3 separate regions of the Homo sapiens genome follow, and all the other regions are linked to region 1. Evidence: promoter capture Hi-C in human tissues and cell types (Jung and others, 2019). All regions are on one chromosome and are shown on one strand. The core of a region is centred on a gene start or on the middle of the fragment in contact, and the rest is flanking DNA. Distances in the headings are between cores, read along the strand shown.

Region 1 (3,995 bases), core at 932-3,431:
TTCTTTATCTCATTCTTATTTTTGGATCGGTGTCAACGAATGGCTGTCTGTGCTAACAGATAAGATGTGAGGAGAAGAGAACTAATATTTTTGAGGCCCTGTTATGTGCCAGGCACTGTTAGCTGATAGGGTTTTAGTTATATTCCTGATAGAGGCAAATGAATGTCCAAAGAGTTGTCCAGAGGCAACGGGAAGACACTCCCACTCCTCTGCCCTCCCCTTCTGCCCAGCACTGGGGGTGTGCACTTCCCACACCTGCTCCTTGCTTTTGCAGAACTTGTTGGACCCAGCCCCCAAATCCCAAGAGCCGGTGGTATGTGTGGGAAGGACCGGGGACCTGTGGATGGGCACCATCCCAGCACCTCTCCCATCTGTCCAACCCTAACCTTCATGAAAGACTGCCAATTCTGATAGAAATTCCAAGATTGCTAATGTTTTCTTTGGATAAGAATCAGGACTTTGCTCTGCTCTGGAAAACCAAGCAGGAACTGTCCAGATGCAGCTCAGGACCACAGCAATCGACTCCTGAACTGGAATGCAGTGAAGGCAGGTTTTGGGTGAGAGGCAAGGAACCAAAATTTATTGAGCATCCATATATTATCTCGTTTAATTTCCACATAGACTCAGCAAAGGGGTGGAGTTTCCTGGGAACTTTTTGAACTTATTAGCTTACTTCTTTTTTCTAAACTCTCATTATGGAAAATTTCAAACTCACAAAAGTAGGAAGAATGCTTCTATGATCTCCCAGATACCCACCACCTGCCTCAGCAATTATCAACGTTGTGGCATTCCTATTTATCTACCTTTTTTTGGCTGATGTATTTTAAAGAAAATCTCAGGCATTCTAACATTTCACCTTTAAATACTTTAGTATATACCTCTAACAGATAAAGGCTAATTTTTAACATAAGCACACAATCATTATCAAGCCCAACAAAATTAACAATAATTTTTTAAAATCTAATACCCAGTTCGAGTTCACTTTCCCAAAGTACCTTGGAAATGTCTTTTACAGTTGTTTGCTTGAATCAGGATCCAAACAAGATCCACACACACATGGCTGACATGTCTCTTAAAGCCCTTTTTATTTAAAACACCCCCGTCCTACACACACGTTTCCCTCCATATATTTGTTGAAGAAACTGGGTCAGGTGTCCCGAGTATAATCATTTGGCGTGACTAGAATCAAGTTTACTTTTAATACGTCTCTCTTGCCCATAATTCCTGAATGTTGTTCATTAGATTTACAGGCTGACTAGATTCAAGTTCAATTTTTTTGGCAAGAATACTTCCTAGGTGGTGCTGGTACTTCCTATTCACCATATTAGCAAATACATATGATGCAGACTGTCCCACTTTTAGTGATGTTGAGGTCGAGCATTTGCTTCAGGTTGTGTCAGCCTGACCCAACCATTATACAATTCACCTGGAGAACTTAAAAAAAAAAAACAACAAAAAAGATTGCCTACGTCCCAAACCAAACCTCCTGAATCAGAATATCTTCCCCACCTCCTCCATGTGTTTAAAAGGCTCCCCGGGCCAGGTGCGATGGGAGCACTGGAGTAATCCCAGCACTTTGGGAGGCCGAGGGGGGGCAGATCACCTGAGGTCAGGAGTTCGAGACCAGCCTGGCCAACATGGCAAAACCCCGTCTCTACTAAAAATACAAAAATTAGCCGGGTGTGGTGGCACATGCCTGTAATCCCAGCTACTCGGGAGGCTGAGGCAGGAGAATGGCTTGAACCCGGGAGGCGGAGGTTCAAGTGAGCCGAGATTGCACCACTACACTCCAACCTGGGTGACAGAGTGAGATCCTGTCTCAAAAATAAAAAAGAAAGAAAATACTTTTTAAAAAAATAGGAAATTCACCCCTTTGGAAAGTGGCAGAGCCAGGTGTGACCCCAGGACTCCGCATTTTTAAGTCACCACAGGTGGTTCTGCTGCAGGTGGTCCGAGTATTTCCCTTGGTAAAATACGGTGCTTTTGGCGCTGTTCCATTCCGGGGGCTGTCACCTGGTTCTTCAACACAAAGCTTGTCCTCAAGGAACCCACAGTCCTGGGGCAGCGAGCATGTGCACTAGTGGCAATCACGTGGGGAGGAAGCGGTCAGTGCCATAAAGGCAGTTCAGGGAAACTGCTGGGAGGGCACAGCAGAAGGAGCACTCACTGCCAGCTGGGAAGTCATGGAAGGCTTCCTGGAAGACAGGCATGGAGCTGAACTTTGAAGGAATCAGGTTATTCCAGGGGAAGGGGCAGCACTGGCAGAAGAACAGAGGCAAAGGGAAATGCTATCACCTTTCGTGGGGCTGGGGGAGTTAATGAGATGGGAACGACCAAATATGGAGATCCTAAAAGAAAGAAATGAGGCAGAGACAAGGTCCACTTGAGTAGCCGAGTAGACTGCTGGGGACTTGCTCGGAGGCCCAGGGACTTACAGGAACACACCCTATCAGGGGTGCTGGTGCTCACACACAGCTCAACAGGACCCTGCTAATGAAGGGTAATACTTCTGTACCAGGAGCTGGTATCAGCGCATTACACACCCTGCCCCATGAATCTTCACCCACATCCCTATGACGAAGGTGCCATTGTTCCTTCTATCTTCCAGAGGAAGAATTTAAAATGTCACACTGCTAGGACATGGCAGAGCTGGGATTCAAAACCAGGCAGTCTGGCTCCCAGAGACTGCATTCCTGACCACTCTGCTTCCCTGCCGCTCACCCTCTTGAAGAGTGAAGACCCTAGCAGCCTCCTGCCCATGGAGCATGGGGTCCTCATAGCAGGCCTCTCCTCCTCATACCTCTGCCTTCACCTCACAAGCTCAGGGAGTCCTCCTGCCCCTGCCCTGCTCCCTCTGTCTCCCCCTCAGGGCTCTCTTGGGTTTCTGTGCAGCAGGATACTGGCTCCCTCGCTCTTCCCTTCCTTTTGGTTCCTGGACCCAAACCACAGGCCTCTTTCCTTTAAGGGGTCACTCCTGTTCTCTGCAGACCCAGAACAGGGGTTAAAAGAGCAAGAGACAAGGCTGCGGACAAAGGTTTTGAGTCTCCCACAGTGCTCAGAGCCGTGTTCCCTGGTTCCCAGCTGAGCTCCCTGTGGACAGCCCCTGGGGAAGAGCCTGCTCAGGAGACAGAGGCCCTGAACAGCTTGTCCCAGGTCATAGAATAGCCCAGGAGCACAGCCAGGACTGGACCCCAGGAAGCAGAGCTGCCTTCCGCTGGCTCTACCAGTTTGTTTGGGATGGAGCTCAGCGATGAGCTCACCCTTCCCTGCTGCCAGAGGGGCCAGGACCTGAGTAAGGAGCTGGGGGCGGCCTGGCCCTCTCATGCCAGCAGAAGGCCAGCCCCAGGCTTTTGGCCAACCTTGCACTGATCTTGCCCATCCCCCTTCCTTTCCGTTGCTCAAAGGTGGCTTCACAGAAGACACTGGCGGTGTCAGTAGTGTGGGAGGCATGTACTGCCCGTGGCCTGGGTCTGCCCCATGGGGTTCTTCTCTCTTCCAGAGACCTAAGCCAGGAAGGCCAAACAATCCCCACCCCCATGTGTCCCTAGGCCAGTGACGCTGGGGCCAGAGTGGGCAGTAGGACTCTAGACCACCTCCTAGGTTCCTGGCAGCCTCCCTGGACTTACAGGTGGCAGGAATGGGCCGAGCCATGCCTTAGGGCCAGAAGATAAGAGGCAGGGCTCAAGGGGCTACAAATGCCAGAGGTCAAGGCAAGCAAGGGTCTGACACTGGGCAGACAGGAGTCAGGACTGGTGATCCACAGCCTACCTGACTCCCTACCCCCTGCATTTTCTCCCCAAAGCTGCGGTTACTTCATCCCCCTAAGTTCAGGCCTCCTTGTCCTGTCCTAGGCACAATACAGAAGCCCAGGGGAGTTGGCTTTCAGAGGATCTGGTTGCTGGCGCTCCACTGGCCTCGTGCTTCCTTTCTGGTCAATGGGCTTCCTCCAGTAACCAAGCTTCTATCTTACATAGGATTACAACAGCTGCCATTCT
Region 2 (3,995 bases), core at 819-3,318, 360 kb after region 1:
GGTTGCAGTGAGCCGAGATCGTACCATTGTATTCCAGCCTGGCCACAGAGCAAGACTCTGCCTAAAAAATAAACAAAAACAAAACAAAAGCACATTCCTGGGCCAACTCAGAAATTCTGCAGTATCTGCAGTAGAATCACAAGGTGTGCCTGGGAAGCTGAATTTCTATAAGCTGCACTGATATTCTGTTACATAGCAAGAGTTTGGGGACCTCTAGTCTTCTGGCTGTGACCATCTGATTCCTCATTCTTTCCTCCATGGCTCAGGTGTGCAGCCTGAGTGTGGGTATGACGATTGGTGGGTGCTGAATTCTCAACCCACAGACCCCTGGGAAAAATGGGTCTGGAGGAGGGACCCACAGATCCTGAATGAGCTCTCTGACCTGATGTCTAGGATGAGAGGAGGGGGCTGAAGGGCTTGCAGAGCAAAGGGGACTAAGTATTTAGAAGTGCCCTGAGTGATGCCCTGCTCCTTCTTAACATTCATTATTTGCAAATATTTGAGCACCTACTACATGCTAGGCTTATCTAGGTGCTGGAGGATACAGTAGTGAATGAAAATCTGTGCCCTGATTAAGTTTATGTTCTAGTGGGCATGGCAGGCAATAAGGAAATAAATAAATGGGCCAGGCATGGTGGCTCACATCTGTAATCCCAGCACTTTGGGAGGCAGAAGTGGGTGGATCACTCAAGCTCAGGAGTTGAAGACCAGCCTGGGCAACATAGCGAGACCCCATCTCTACAAAAAATACAAAAATTAGCTGGGTGTGGTGGCGCAAGCCTGTAGTCCCAGCTACTCGGGAGGCTGAGGCGGGAGGATTGCTTGAGGCCGGGAGATGGAGGTTGCAGTGAGCTGAGATCATGCCACTGCACTCCAGCCTGGGCAACAGAGCGAGACTCCATCTCAAAGAAAGAGAGAAATGAAATATATAGCATGTTAGTGACACGTGCTGAGGAGAAAAACAAAACAGGGAAGGGGGATAGAAACTGGTATTTGCTAAGTGCAATTTTAGATGGGGTTTTCTAGGAAGTGCTGTGACGTCATCACTTGCTTTAAAAGAGGCCAGGCGCAGTAGCTGACTCCTGTAATCCCAGCACTTTGGGAGCCCCAGGCAGGCGGATAACCTGAGGTCAGGAGTTCACGACCAGCCTGGCCAACATGGTAAAACCCCGTCTCTACAAAAATACAAAAATTAGCCAGGCATGATGGCGGGTGTCTGTAATCCCAACTACTCGGGAGGCTGAGGCAGGAGAATCGCTTGAACCCGGGAGGCGGAGGTTGCACTGAGCCGAGATTGCACTACTGCCCTCCAGCCTGGGCGACACAGCAGGACTCTGTCTCAAAAAATAAAAATAAAATAAAAATAAAAATGCTGGGCGCAGTGGCTCATGCCTGTAATCCCAGCACTTTAGGAGGCCGGGGCGGGTGGATCACCTGAGATCGGGAGTTCAAGACCAGCCTGACTAACATGGAGAAACCCCGTCTCTACTAAAAATACAAAATTAGCCAGGCATGGTGGTGCATGTCTGTAATCCCAGCCACTCAGGAGGCTGAGGCGGGAGAATCGCTTGAACCCGGGAGGCGGAGGTTGCAGTGGACCAAGATCGCGCCATTGCACTCCAGCCTGGGCAACAGAATGAGACTCCATCTCAAAAAAAAAAAAAAAAGAAAGAAAGAAAGAAAGAAAGAAAGAAAGAAAGAAAGAAAGAAAGAAAGAAAGAAAGAAAGAAAAAAACTGTTATAGACTGAGTGCCATTTTAGATGGGGTTTTCTGGGAAGTGCTGTGACATCATCGCTTGCTGTAAAAGAGGCCGGGCGCGGTGGCTGACGCCTGTACTCCCAGCGCTTTGGGAGGCCGAGGCGGGAGGATCGCTTGAGCCTAGGAGTTCGAAGTTACAATGAGCTATGATCAGGCCACTGCACTCCAGCCTGGGCAATGAGAAAGACCCTGTCTCTTAAACAACAACAAAGTCAGAAGGAGAGGCTGCCATGGCTACGGCTCCAGGTGACGTCACGGCCAGCTCCGTGACGCGCGGCCAGGGCAGCCCGCGGAGACCGAGGCTCCTCTGTGACGTCAGCAGCCGGCCGGGACACAGCGGGAGGGCAGGTGCGGCCGCGGGGCCTGCCGACTTCACGCAGGGTCCGTGGGGTCCCCGCGGCGCGCAGCGGCTGAAGGAGGCCCCAGGGCCTTGGCGACCGCAGCGGCGGCTTTAGCGTCAGTGACTAGGCAGCAGGGGGTCAGGATGCGGCGAAGCTCCCGCCCGGGCTCGGCCTCGTCCTCGCGCAAGCACACGCCCAACTTTTTCAGCGAGAACAGCTCAATGAGCATCACCTCGGAGGACAGCAAAGGGCTCCGGTCAGCGGAGCCCGGGCCTGGGGAGCCCGAGGGCAGAAGAGCCCGGGGCCCGAGCTGCGGTGAGCCCGCCTTGAGCGCGGGAGTGCCCGGAGGAACCACATGGGCAGGAAGCTCTCAGCAGAAGCCAGCGCCTCGGAGCCACAACTGGCAGACAGCCTGTGGCGCGGCAACCGTGAGGGGCGGGGCCTCGGGTGCGGGCGGGGTCGACCCCGGGTGAGCCAGTGGAGGGGGCGGGGCCTAAAGGGCGGTGCTGGGCGGGGACGGGGCTAAGATGATATCTGGGCACCTCCTACAAGGTGGGTCCTGTAGGGTAAAGGGATGGTGCTAAATGAGATCCCTTAAGGGGCGGAGCCTCGGTGTCCTGGACGGTTATGGGAAGGGGCGGGGAAAATCTTGTGGTTGGGTGCCACTGAGGGGGCGCGGCCTCAATGTTAGCGTGAGTGGCTCCCAGGACAATTGGGTTCCACCAAGATCTAAGGCTGGGGGCGGGTCATCCGTTTGGGGGAGGGACCAACTCTTTTTTTTTTTTTTTTGCAACGGAGTTTCGCTCCTGTTGCCCATGCCATGCAATGGCATGATCTCGGCTCACCGCAACCTCCGCCTCCCGGGTTCAAACGATTCTCCCGCCTCAGCCTCCCGAGTAGCTGGGATTACAGGCGTGCGCCACCATGCCCGGCCAATTTTTGTGTTTTTAGTAGAGACGGGGTTTCTCCGTGTTAATCAGGCTGGCCTCGAACTCCCGACCTCAGGTGATCCGCCCGCCTCGGCCTCCCAAATCGCTGGGATTACAGGCGTGAGCCACCGCGCCCGGCCAGGAGACCAACTCTTGACGGAGCCTCCCTGAGGGGCGGGGCTTCAGAGGGCGGAGCTGGAGCCGGGATAGGGCTGCGGTGGGACCAAAGCCTGTGAGAGACTTCCCAGCTGTCTGGCTTGTGGACTGAGCAATCTGCGGCCCGGTCTCGAGGGGAAAATAGGTCTGTGGTCCGCAAGGCCCCAGTGGAGCCCTTGGGTTCCCGCAGAACCGACTGGGTCTCCAGTAGTCTCTGAGGAGCCGCTCGACCTTCTCCCGACCCTGGATCTGAGGCAGGAGATGCCTCCCCCGCGGGTGTTCAAGAGCTTTCTGAGTACGGGCCAGGCCAGCTGCGATCCCCTCTGACCCTCGGGTTCCCCTCTCCGAACTCCAGTTCTCTCTGAGCCCCCGGCCCCCGTTTGAGTATCGAGCCCCTCTCCGAGCCTCAACTCATTCCTAGCCCCCATCCAATTATCCTAGCCGACCCTCTCTTCCTGAGCCCCAGGCCCACCCCCGGCCCCTCCCAAGCCCCTTCTGAACCCGGACACCACGCAGGCTGAGCCCCGCCTCTCCCTGCCGTGGGCCCCTCTCTGACCCTCTGTCCTGGCCTCAGGCCTGCTCTTCCAGGGGCTGAGCGTGTTGTTATCCCTGGCAGGAGACGTGCTGGTCAGCATGTACAGGTCAGAGGAAGGGACGCTGGCGCCCCAGGAACAGCTCTTTGGAGGGGGTGGGGAGCAGGGCCGGAACCTTGCTGGCGCTTGAGCCGATTCAGATCTGATTGAGTCATGTTGGCAAGAGCTGGGTCTAGGACCCTGGGGTGGGGACTGGAGGGTTGAGCAGGTCGGGGCC
Region 3 (3,995 bases), core at 1,010-3,509, 270 kb after region 1:
GACACTCTCCTAGAGTCACTGAGGATCCCAAAAAAGAGAATGTCAACTCACTTTTCCTCATGGTATTGGAGGAAGAGAGGGGAACCCCCAGGACGTAAGAGAAGGGCATTCCAGGCAAACGGAATGGTGCGAGAGAAGGCATGAGGCAGCTCATGTGTCTGGGGAATTCTAAGAGCCCATTATGGGAGCCTGGGAGACAGGAGGCAAGGGGAGGAGTCAGAACATGTATAGTCTTTTTTTTTTCTGAGATGGAGTCTCGCTCTGTCACCAGGCTGGAGTGCAGTGGCGCAATCTCGGCTAACTGCAACCTCTGCCTCCCGGGTTCAAGCGATTCTTCTACCTCAGCCTCCCGAGTAGCTGGGACTACAGGCATGCCTGGCTATTTTTTGCATTTTTAGTAGAGATGAGGCTACCACCATGCCTGGCTATTTTTTGTATTTTTAGTAGAGATGGAGTTTGACCATATTGGCCAGGCTGGTCTCGAACTCCTGACCTCATGATCCACCCGCCTCAGCCTCCCAAAGTGTTGGGATACAGGCATGAGCCACCACGCTTGGCCTACATGTAGAGTCTTGAAAGCCAGGCAGAAAACTTTAGACTCCATGCTGAAGGCATTGAGGAGCAGGAATTTTAAGAGAAGAAGATACAAGAATCTTTCCTGCCGGGGCACAGTTGTGCAAGACACAGAACAAAGCCTTGGGCCCCAGGGATGACCCTGACCCTGGTAAGACAGCCAGTTGTCCTGGTTGCACCTGGGGAGGAAGGGGGAGGGAACTGACCTGGGGCCCTTCCCACAGCAACCCACAGCCACATCCTACCCCTTTTCCTATTCCCCCTCACCGTGTCTTTGCTATCTTCCACTCCACTAGGGAACCAGACCATCTTCCAAAATCTGAGAAAGAATTGGAGGTGGGGGAGTTTGGGCCACAAGACCTGGGAAAGTCCTGCAAGTGTCCCCAGTAAGCCAATAGAAGGTCTTCCCAGAGCCCCTGCTGTTACTCCCTGCAGTGACCTCCCCTCACCCCCACACAGAGAATGTCTGGGGACACCTCCATCACCTTATCACTTAGAGCATCTGAAGTCCACACCAGGTCAGAGAGCTTCCGCAGTAGCATCTCCAGCTGCATCCAGGAGCCCTGGTCGCTGGCATTCCTGGGATAGATGAAGCATTGTGTGTGGTTTGGTTCCCCACGTCCATCTCAAAGCCCTGGACTTGGGGCCTGCTTCATCTTGGGAAGGGGAGCAGAAACTGATGGAACTGTGGGGCAGGCCTGGCCTTCCTGCTCCCGCCCTCTCCCCAGCACCCACCTGAAAACCACGGGGTATTGGTCGATGTCGTTGCCAAGGCTGGAGCCCTGCGGGATCTGTGGGCGCCCCAACAGCACACAAGTCCCACAATAGAAATCAAAATGGCTCACCGAGAGCCTGGGAATCCCTTTAAACAGCTTCCTCCACAATTTCCCAAGCTCGCTCCCTGAGTTCATGCCCTGGAAACAGCAAGAGGGAGATTGGGGGCTGGGCCCAGGGGAGAGAAAACAGAGCTGGGTGGGTGAGATCTCCATCCAGAGGCTGTGAAGACAGGGCCAAGGGCAGGGATTTGGGCGGAAAGTGGGAGATGGGTGAGGCCCGGAAAGCATGGGGGATATGGCCGGGCCCAGTGTTGACCACTGACCAACCACCAGAGCACAGTGTCAGAGGTCATAGACTCTCTTGTCCTCATCAGGTACCCCATAGTCTTCCTGGAGCACGCATCAAGCCAGTTCCATTCGTCGGCTGTGTGGTGGCAGGAGGAGCAGTTGAGGGTCTCAGAAGGGCAGCCACACTTCCCGGAACTGAACCAAGGGCAGTCGCAATGCTGTGGTACCAAGTACATTCGTTTTTCCTGGGGTGCTGATTCAGGTGTCAGATCCAGATAGGGGGTCATCAGCCAGAGGATGAGCACCCAAAAGACCCACAGGACAAAAATCTGCCAGCGCTTCATGTCTGGCCCAGGCGGTGGCTCCCGTGGTGGGCCGTAGACTGGCTTCTCTACCTGTAAGGATGAGGGGCTGAGGCCACAGACAGCACCAGCTTCCCTCTGTCCTGTCGGCCTCCACAACTCCCCATCCCACCACCTTCCACCTCCTTCCAACCCCTCCTCTCCTGCCTCACTATCCATTTGCTCACCCTCAAAACGGTCTCTGACTGGGCATGGGGTGGAAGAGGCCAGGGCAGAGAGACAGCATGTGGCTAGTCCTGAGAGGGGAAGGAATACCTCAGTGGGGGCCTTGCTGTCATCCCAGTTATATCATAGATCTCATCACAAAGTACACATTGTGACCTCCCTCCTTTAGCCTGCCTGAAAAAAGCCACCACCCTACCCTTTCTCTGACACCGAAATGACCTCCACTGGATGTAAGATTCATGAGGACAGGGGCTGACCTAGTCTCTCTTCTTCACCTCTGCAGCTCTAAGACTTAGAATCATTTAATAAATATTTATGGGATAAATAAACAGGGGTTGAGAGGGAACTTTTTTTTTTTTTTTTGAGATGGAGTTTTTGCTCTGTTGTCCAGGCTGGAGTGCAGTGGCATGATCTTGGCTCACTGCAACTTCCGCCTGCCTGGTTCAAGCGATTCTCATGCCTCAGCCTCCCAAGTAGCTGGGACTACAGGCATGCGCCACCACGCCTGGCTAATTTTTATATTTTTAGTGGAGACAGGGTTTCGCCATATTGGCCAGGCTGGTCTCAAACTCCTGACCTCAAGTGATCCGCCCACCTCAGCCTCCCAAAGTGCTGGAATTACAGGCGTGAACCACCATGCCCAGCCGGGAACTTTATTTTTAAATTATTATTATTATTATTATTATTATTATTATTATTATTATTATTTTGAGACGGAGTTTCACTCTTGTCGCCCCAGCTGGAGTGCAGAGGCACGATCTCGGCTCACTGCACCCTCTACCTCCCGGGTTTAAGTGATTCTCTTGCCTCGGTTTCCCAAGTAGCTGGGATTACAGGTGCCCGCCACCACGCCTGGCTAATTTTTTTGTATTTTTAGTAGAGACGGGGTTTCCCCATGTTGGTCAGACTGATCTCGAACTTCTGACCTCAGGTGATCCGCCCGCCTTGGCCTCCCAAAGTGTTGGGATTACAGGCATGAGCCACTGCACCCCGCCCCAGCCTGGAACTTTAAATATACTTGTGTGTGATGCCCTCTCTGGAGTTGTGTGACATCAACTCAATCCTCTCTTGTAGTCTCTAGACCCCATATCCAACAGCCTACTGAATTGCCACTTAGATGGCTCAGAGACATCTCACCTGAATAAGCCTGAGACTGAACCCAGGATTTTCCCTGTAAACCAACCCTTCCCAAAACTTCTCTGTCTCTTTTGTTTTGTTTGAGACAGAGTCTTGCTCTGTCACCCAGGCTGGAGTGCAGTGGCGCAATCTCAGCTCACTGCAACTTCTGCCTCCTCCGGGGTTCAAGCAATTCTCCTGCCTCTGCCTCCCGAATAGCTGGGATTACAGGTGCGTGCCACCAAGCCCGGCTAATTTTTTGTATTTTTGGTACAAACGGGATTCCACCATGTTGGCCAGGCTGATCTCAAACTCCTGACCTCAGGTAATCTGCCCACCTCGGCCTCCCAAAGTACTGGGATTACAGGCGTGAGCCACTGCACCCAGCTTCAAAACTTCTCTATCTCAACAAATGGTTCCACCACGTACCCAGTTATTGAAACCAGAACTCATGTGTTATTAATTCCTCCTACTCCTATGATACCCAAATTCTTTTTTTTTTTTTTTTTTTAGGACAAAGTCTCACTCTGTCACCCAGGCAGGAGTGCAGTGGCACAATCTTAGCCCACTGTAGCCTCTGCCTCCAAGGTTCAAGCAATCCTTTCACCTCAGCTTGCCAAGATGCTGGGACTACAGAAGTGTGCCACCACGCTAGGCTTATTTATTTATTTAATTTATTTTTGAAACAGAGTCTCACTCTGTCGCCCAGGCTGGA

Evidence for each region. The method cuts DNA at HindIII sites, captures the fragments that hold promoters and counts their contacts. A contact is called where the count stands out against the background at its distance.
Region 2: a contact is called between the fragment with the promoter of SPAG4 here and a fragment that was not itself captured in region 1, in 3 of the 25 tissues and cell types used here (dorsolateral prefrontal cortex, pancreas and spleen).
Region 3: the fragment with the promoter of C20orf173 here is called in contact with a fragment that was not itself captured in region 1 in 2 of the 25 tissues and cell types used here (dorsolateral prefrontal cortex and pancreas).

The regions. Positions count from the first base shown.
Region 1 is chr20:35,257,360-35,261,354 of GRCh38, forward strand. All of the region lies in intron 2 of MMP24-AS1-EDEM2 (MMP24-AS1-EDEM2 readthrough), which reads right to left. All of the region lies in intron 4 of MMP24 (matrix metallopeptidase 24), which reads left to right. Among named protein-coding and RNA genes, the nearest start is that of MMP24-AS1-EDEM2, 19 kb to the right of the region's middle. RefSeq lists an enhancer at 3,915-3,995. The HindIII fragment of the contact is 5,720 bases long and covers 1-3,995 here.
Region 2 is chr20:35,613,761-35,617,755 of GRCh38, forward strand. It overlaps SPAG4 (sperm associated antigen 4), which reads left to right and starts at 2,069. Exons shown (of 12, transcript NM_003116.3): 1 at 2,069-2,547; 2 at 3,376-3,480; 3 at 3,760-3,826. The coding sequence starts at 2,244. RefSeq lists a silencer at 2,115-2,844 and enhancers at 3,275-3,544, 3,575-3,995, 3,755-3,804. The HindIII fragment of the contact is 21,465 bases long and covers 1-3,995 here.
Region 3 is chr20:35,527,393-35,531,387 of GRCh38, forward strand. It overlaps C20orf173 (chromosome 20 open reading frame 173), which reads right to left and starts at 2,260. Exons shown (of 6, transcript NM_001145350.2): 1 at 2,167-2,260; 2 at 1,673-2,032; 3 at 1,309-1,487; 4 at 1,059-1,152; 5 at 841-892. The coding sequence starts at 1,981. The coding sequence ends at 866. The HindIII fragment of the contact is 31,043 bases long and covers 1-3,995 here.